2 separate regions of the Homo sapiens genome follow, and region 2 is linked to region 1. The links are contacts of gene promoters, found by promoter capture Hi-C in blood cells and fetal thymus (Javierre and others, 2016). All regions are on one chromosome and are shown on one strand. The core of a region is centred on a gene start or on the middle of the fragment in contact, and the rest is flanking DNA. Distances in the headings are between cores, read along the strand shown.

Region 1 (4,001 bases), core at 1,080-3,579:
GTTGGCTTAGTTTCTAAACATAAGTCTAAATCCTCTCATGTTTCATTCATTGTTAAGAAATATTTAGCTTTGAGAGAGAGAAGGGAAAGAAGGCAAGCAAAAGCAGAGAGAAATTTTAATTTCTCAGTTGGGTTTTATTATGTCAAAAAGTGAGCTATTTTTGTTTTCTAATTCGCAATTTTGGTTAAGAGTTGTTACTAAATGTGTTTCTTCACAACTAAGCCACCATAGAACCAATTTTTCTTGACTTAGGTGTTTGCTGTCTTATTAAAGTAGCCTCTGTTCTTATCAGGGCTGTGAAGTTGCTTTAGCAACCATCTCCAAAATTGGATATAGTAGTTGTTAAAACTAGACAAAGAAGAAGATAAAAGAGGGACATTTTCTGAATTCATTAGAACTACAATAGAGCACATTTTTAAAATTAAGTTGTTCATTTTTTTTAATACTTTAAGTTCTAGGGTACATGTGCACAACGTGCAGGTTTGTTACATATGTATACATTTTTAAACTAATAGAAATAAATGTGCCTTAGCCAATTTTGCCCCATTTCTACCCCCTAGAGTTGTCCTTAAAATTACTGTAAGTTTTCAAATAGTACAACAGGGATATAAGACAGTCATAGCAATGAGAAAAATGGCTGACATTTATTGAGTGCTTGCTACATGCCAGGTACTAGTCCAATGCCATTACCTATATACATGTATTTATGCCAATGTTTAATCTTAATGGAAACCCTATGGGAATTAAACCTCATAACATTCATTATTATCTCCATCCTGCAGGTGAAGAAACTGCGGCACAGGGAGGCTAAATAACTTGAGATCACACAGATAGTAAATGATAGAACAAGGAAGTGAAAAAATAATTGAACCTTTTCTTAGGAGTTTTCTGATAAACTACAAGTAGAAGGGGCTAGTGAATCTAATGAGTAACCCCTATTACAGCAAAGTACAATCTGATGTATTTTTCTGAGTAAAGTGATAATATGTATTGCGGATTTGTTCACCTGGGTTTTCAGAAGACAATTCCTTTAAATTAATCTTACATTGGGAATCTCCTTTTTTCCTCCTTTTTCCGTTAATCTCAGAGTTAAAAGTTTGCCTTAGCCTAATATATATACATATCTCAAATTTAATTACCTTCAACCATACTTTCCAGGAAAAGGAATGTTTTGCCTTTTTATTATTTTTTTCTTCAGGCAAAAATTAGTTCCAATTAGTTCTGATGTTTTATAAAGAACAAAGAGCTCAAATTTCTGTTTTAAATGCACTTGGAAACAAGACGTAATCTAAATTTGGGGAGACTTTTACATGTCTCAGAGTTTATAAATAACCAGACCCCAAACTTTTTAAAGTTTCCCCTAGGATATTGCACTTACTGTCTAAAGGAGTTCCTGTTTTGCAAATAAAAAAAAAGCTTAACTTTTAAAAAATATATTTTACTCAGTTAATATTTAGAAAACTATATTTATATAGGCTCCTTAGGTCCAAGAGTAGGTATACTTTGTTCTCAGTAACATCTTTTAAAAAAGAAGTTATCAATGTATACAGCAAGATCAAAAACTCTTATTTTGACATCTAGTAATTGACATCTAATACAATTTCTCCATTTGCTGTCAACTACTAGCTGCCCATTGTATTACAAAGCTCAGTGTCCTCTAGTGAAGAATGCCCTACCTTACCATTTTATGAGACCTAAATGTGGTAAACAGAATCCTCCCATCTAACCACATTCAAACTGAAGCACTCTGCATATGCCGTTGAGACATTTGTGTTGCATATTATTTCAAGATGTAGATATTGAGTGCTGAGATGTCCAAGTAAATACTTACATGGTGGTTAAAATTGCAGTCTTTTGAAAGAAGTGAGTAAACTCTGAATGACTTTTCATTTAAAAGAATAGGCTGAAGTAATTAAAATTCTTGAAATTACTCTCATGTACTTATGTATCCTCTGTAGAGATTACCCCCTTTCAGCCTTGGAAGTTTAGGGCAGCAAAATCATTTTCTTCAGAATATATAAAAAAATAACTAAAGGGTCAATACCTTTATATTACTTTCTTATCGTACTACCATTTGCCTGGGCTCCTCTTCTTTTTATTCTCCTTCATGAGATACTGATTAATAGACAGGTTTTATGGCTAGAAAATACCTATCTCTAAATCAAGATTAGTATTCATTGGCTTTTACACCATAAGGCTAAATGTGATAAAAAGGAAGAGATGGAGTGGAAATGCCTGTGCTCTATGTGAGATGATTTTCACCTGATCACCATCATAAACTCCTCCCCGTCTACAGGTGTGGGCACTTTTTTTTTTTTCTCTCCCTCCTGTTTCCACTAAGGGCTAATTAGAGAGGTAGCCTTGAAGAATAAACTTACCATTTATATAAAAGGGCTACTGGACTGATACACAGCTGAAAACCCTCAGTTCTGGACTGAACTCCCAGCAGGTAAACATTTATTCATTAATATAATACATTTCAAGTCATAGTTTATAATTGCAGAAAGGGATGGGAAAAATAGAGAAGAGATGAAATCCAACCTTATACAGAACGAATACATTGTAATTAGGTTTCAAGGAAAGATATATTTTGTTTTGTTTCTTGGCGTGTTTTTGTTTGGGGTTTTTTTAACTCCTAAATTTTGATATGAGGAAAATTTTTACTCTTAAATTTTGATGTGAGGAAAATAAGTATTACCAAGTATAAATTTGTTTGCATTGTGATATGGGCACAACTAGAGCAACCTCTCTGAACAAAAATCCTAACATATGAAAAATAATTACTAGCATTGGATTCCAAGTGCTTAAAAAAATGTATTTCCTCATTAACAAATGCCCACCATTATATTGTAAATATTGTATTACATTACAAAAACAGAGATCTTATGTTTTATTGCTTATAAGACTTAAAAGTCTCCCAGGAGAGTGTCATGCTTTCATTGTTATGATAAATATTAATGAATAAAATATTTTAGATGCTTGCTCTGTGCTTATAAACACTCAAATGCCCCCAAAGAAACTTCAGTTTCTAAAACTTACATGAGCATAATTCTTTTTCTTGACAAATACTTTCAAACAGTGAGTCTATTGGTTATAATTTGGTTAAAGGAGTTACCAACCTTTAACTTCCAATTCCAGAACATACTGATTATGGACAGTACTAATCAAGTGGTAAGGATATGACATTCTGCTCTTGTAGCTTTCAGAGTTAATCGTCATTATGACTCTCTAACATGTTACAAAAATGTGTAGAAAATATTTTCTGCATCAATGAGAATTTCTGCTCTACCTTGTGGCATTAAAAAAATTTCTATTTAATGAAAGATCCTTATGAAATGAATCACTGTTTACTGAAAGGGTATTGTCAAATGTAGATTAATTGTAGTGTCCTCTCTGCATGAACCCATGGGGGAATGTCTCTGATTTTAGTTTGTCACCCTGAGTAATTTGTGAGTTGCATGAGTATAGTCTAGAAGGGTAAGTTGAAGCCAATTAAGTAGAGGTTTTGCTATTAAGAAGCTGGAGGCCAGGCAGGGTGGCTCACACCTGTAATCCCAGCACTTTGGGGGGCCAAGGCAGGTGGATCACATGAGGTCAGGAGTTTGAGATCAGCCTAGCCAACATGGTGAAACCCCCCATCTCTACTAAAAATATAAAAAAAACTAGCCAGGCGTTGGTGGTGTGTATCGCGGGAGCTGGCCAGCAGCCCGCAATGCAACGGGGCTCTCTCTTTGTTCCTAGGTGGATTGGCAGGTCGAGAAATAAGAGACTCACACAAGATAGTGAAAGCAGGTCCCGCGGTGCCGCCAATGCACTGACTATACCAGCATTTATTATTAAGTTTAGTGAGGGCAGCGGTAGGTTAGTGAGGGATTTAGGGTCATTTGATTATGAGGTGAGATGGTCACATGGGGATGAAGTAATTCTTTAACATAATATCTGTATGCAGAAGTACAGTATACAGAGATAAGAATTTACAATATAGTGTGTGCATCAGTAAT
Region 2 (4,001 bases), core at 1,071-3,570, 1.7 Mb before region 1:
CATCTCTTGCTTTTGTCACCGCTGGGTGTTTGGCTGGATCGGCTGCCGCTGGTATGGATGGGCTGGATTTTTCTTTGGCTGTGGAAGCCTTATCACCATGACTGCTGTCAGCCTGGATCGATATTTGAAAATCTGCTATTTATCTTATGGTAAGTTGGCAGGTTTCTCATTCCCTGACAGTTAAAGCTAGGTGGATTGAGTGTTAGAACTGTACATATTTTATGCAGGTAATAAACAAAGATTATGAATAACCTCAGAGATCAAGAATATTTCTATTTATAGCCTATCATCTTGTTCTGACATGTTTAAGGATTTTAACCTATGTCAAAGTAGATTTCTTTTAATACATATTTTATAGTAATGTCTGGTGTTTGGTTATAATGCTTTAAAAAAGTACCATTTTCTTGTATAGTGTGTAAGCTTCCATCATGTTTCCCACGCAAACAAAAGAAATAAAGTGCATCGAAAGGGTGTTAAGTCCAAGATGTTTAGCTCATTCCCCACCTAGGAAGTGTAATTATAAGAAAAGCTGTTTAAGATTCTCCCTTAGGACTCACGCTCCCTGTGATTTCAGAGATAAGGAATTCCAAAAAGTTCACCTCCAAGTTAGAGTCATGTAGCTGTTTCTGCATGAAAGGACACACATGTAGAAATATCACTCAACATATTTTTTTTTGTGGTGTTGGTTGGTAGAAAGATGAGTGATTACAAGAATTGGTGAATCAGCAGAAAATAAGTTTCCAGGGACTAAATATATGTTTTTTAATGATTAGACCATTCTACAGGTTAAAAATAATTTCTACTACATTTGTTTGTTGGAGCTCTCGGAATTTATCAAACCTGAAAGAATTGCATTTGGGTCTTTAAGTTTAATATTGAGAACCAGGCACAACCAAGGAACAGTACTGACTTCCTCTGGATAAAGTTGCTTTGATTGTCAATCTGTCAATTAGAGTGGTTGTGATGGACGACAGACTGTGGTGTCAGAGCAGGGCCTGGAGACTGAGGTGGGAAAAATCAAGTTGACCTGACACTGTCAATGTGGTAGAATTTCCCTTTGTATTGTTATAGTTTACATCCCCAAACTCCAAAGAATCCATGCTTGGGTGGGTGGGAGGCGGGGGCTTGTGAGCCATTCTCTTCATCATCCAGCACTACGTTTTTTTTTTTTTTTTTAAAGTTTACATCTCCTTTTTTAAACATTTAAAACTTCCAATAGAAATAGCTTGAATCAAAATTTCCAGTAAGATATAAAATATACAACTATACATATTCTGTGTGACGTCAACATCTAATTCTTTCTATAGACTTATTTTTGTTCATACCAAAGAGATTTTAAATTTAACTATAGATTTTATAGATAAGAAGGCAAAAAAGTTAAACTTCCTGAGAGTGTTTGAGGAATACTAAACCCTGATACCTCTGTTTTTAAATATTTTCTTGAGTTTAGGCTTTGTCAGTTAAAGAGATGATGCCGCCCACTGCCAGGATCATTGCAGGTCATAACTCCATATGTGGGAACTGTGTATATTTTCCAGCTTCTTCTAAGGTTGAACCTCAGTAGTGTGGTTTCATCATTTAATCTGATGCACTATTAAACCCTCCACACAGCGTCCCAGAATGTTGGAATTAGAAGGTCGCTTGGGGATGTGTAGACTTTTCTCCCATGTAACGTGGTAAACTGTTTTAAGGCATCCCTGAGAGATGACCACTTGGCCTCTTCTTGAATAATTCCAGTGACCAGTGACGGGGAGCTTACTACTGCACAAGGCAGCCCATTCTCTGATTGGTCTGCTCTCATTGTTACAATGTTATTCCTTATATTAAGACAAAACTGCCTCCCAGTAACCTCCACCCATTGGTCCTAGTTCTGACTTCTGGAGCAACACAGAACCAATCTACTAATCTACTCCCTCCTGTACTTGACAGCCTTTCACCATACTGGAATGTAAGTATAAAACACCTCACAAGTAACCCTAACCATAAATGCTTATACGTATGCCTATGCACATTCCCATGAATATATGTGATTACCTGTGCCAATGTTTTATCAGTTTTAGTGGAGAAACAAGAGCTGACTTATATTGTGGCTACATGATTGCCACCCCTATCTGGTTGGGCATGAAATTTGCATTTCATGACACAAAATGCCATGTATTTGAAAAAAATGGAGACAATAGAGTATAGAAACAATCTGTTATATTTCTTATTAGCGCTAAATGAGATACACTTACACAGGAGTAAAATAATTCATGTTAATATAGCACTTTCTAGTTTGCAAAGCAGGCCCCTTACATTATTTTATTTAACCCATATGCAATATAGTCTTGCATGCACAAGGTCAGTCAAAGACTAGACATAGAAGAATTAGGCCTGACCGACTTTCCAAACCTCACATTGCACTAAGCAGAGGCAGGCCCTGAGTCTATATTGAAGTAATCATTTAGCTTTTGTTGAATATATTTTGATATTTCTTCTCTGCTAACACAAAACCAAGGCAGTAAAGAGTCACTTTCCTGGCCCTCTTCGTTCGAGGTGATGAGTGAGGTGTGAAGGTAATTTCCTGTGGAGGCTGCTGCACTAAATCAGGCCGACCTGTCTTTGGTGGTTGTGTTGAATTCTGAAAATGATCACTAGTGCTTTACAGCTTTTCTTAGATGACTGCACTATTTCCTCCGCTTGGAATTCTCTTTTGGTTAACAGAAACTAGTGCTGAAAAACGGAGCTCATTTTTTGTCTTCCTGAAAATATCTTCACAGAATTACTTTGCAGAACATGATGCAACCTACCTAGATTCTCTGCCTCTCCCGCTGTGGCTGTGTGAGCGCGATTGTTGTGTGAATGACGTTTGAAGATTCCAAACCTGCTCCACAAATTACTAAACACAGTCAAGGACTTTAATCTCAAACCATAGTGTCATGATCACGAGCCACCAAGCCCCTTCCACAAGTTCTTAGGAAGCCAGATAAGACTAGCAACACAAAAGCTGTTAGCAGGAAGGGCGTTTTAAAGACACAAGCCATGTTTTGTGCTTCCTCACCTCCCAGAAGGATTTTCCCTGGATGATCCACTAACACACCCTTTCCGAGATGTTTTCTCAAGGGCCTCCATTGTCTTCAGCATCCTCTCATCTCTTTCCTGTCCCTTTTCCCAGCTGTTGTCACTTCTCCCTCCCAAAGCTCCCAGATGCCTAGAGAAAACCTTCCAATTGTGTTCTCCTGGAGAAAGGCCCAAGCTCTGGAACTTTTTTCCGTTTACTCCACTCTCCCTCAGGCTTCAGTTATCTGCCCAGGTCTCCCAGAAATCAATGGAATAAATCTTTGGAGGTGGAATTTGACATATCGAGGGGAGGTATCTGGGTGTAGGGCAGATTACATCCGGGTAATGCTTTTCTTCCGCCTCCAGGGGTTTGGCTGAAAAGAAAGCACGCCTACATCTGCCTGGCAGCCATCTGGGCCTATGCTTCCTTCTGGACCACCATGCCCTTGGTAGGTCTGGGGGACTACGTACCTGAGCCCTTCGGAACCTCGTGCACCCTGGACTGGTGGCTGGCCCAGGCCTCGGTAGGGGGCCAGGTTTTCATCCTGAACATCCTCTTCTTCTGCCTCTTGCTCCCAACGGCTGTGATCGTGTTCTCCTACGTAAAGATCATTGCCAAGGTTAAGTCCTCTTCCAAAGAAGTAGCTCATTTCGACAGTCGGATCCATAGCAGCCATGTGCTGGAAATGAAACTGACAAAGGTAAGTGCACTAATATTTTACACATGTGTTTTCTGACTACTTACAACTTCATAGGGTACAAAGGATAGGGAACGTTGGAGACTGAGAGAACTTAGAATCTCTATTCTTTACGTAATTCTGAACTTCGTTGATGATTGTCTAAGCCTTTCTTTGTGGTATCTCTCTCCTCTTTCTGTCTCTGTACCCCCACTTCTCTCTTCTCTCTCTCTCTCTCTCACACACACACACACACACACACACACACACACATTTTCAATATCT

The links. The method cuts DNA at HindIII sites, captures the fragments that hold promoters and counts their contacts. A CHiCAGO score of 5 or more calls a contact.
Region 2: a fragment that was not itself captured here is called in contact with the fragment with the promoter of GLYATL3 in region 1 in 1 of 17 cell types (M0 macrophages); the score reaches 5.7 in M0 macrophages.

What each region holds. Positions count from the first base shown.
Region 1 is chr6:49,497,594-49,501,594 of GRCh38, forward strand. It overlaps GLYATL3 (glycine-N-acyltransferase like 3), which reads left to right and starts at 2,330. Exons shown (of 6, transcript NM_001010904.2): 1 at 2,330-2,449. The HindIII fragment of the contact is 14,834 bases long and covers 1,415-4,001 here.
Region 2 is chr6:47,791,824-47,795,824 of GRCh38, forward strand. It overlaps OPN5 (opsin 5), which reads left to right. Exons shown (of 7, transcript NM_181744.4): 3 at 1-149; 4 at 3,406-3,740. Among named protein-coding and RNA genes, the nearest start is that of OPN5, 12 kb to the left of the region's middle. The HindIII fragment of the contact is 3,804 bases long and covers 419-4,001 here.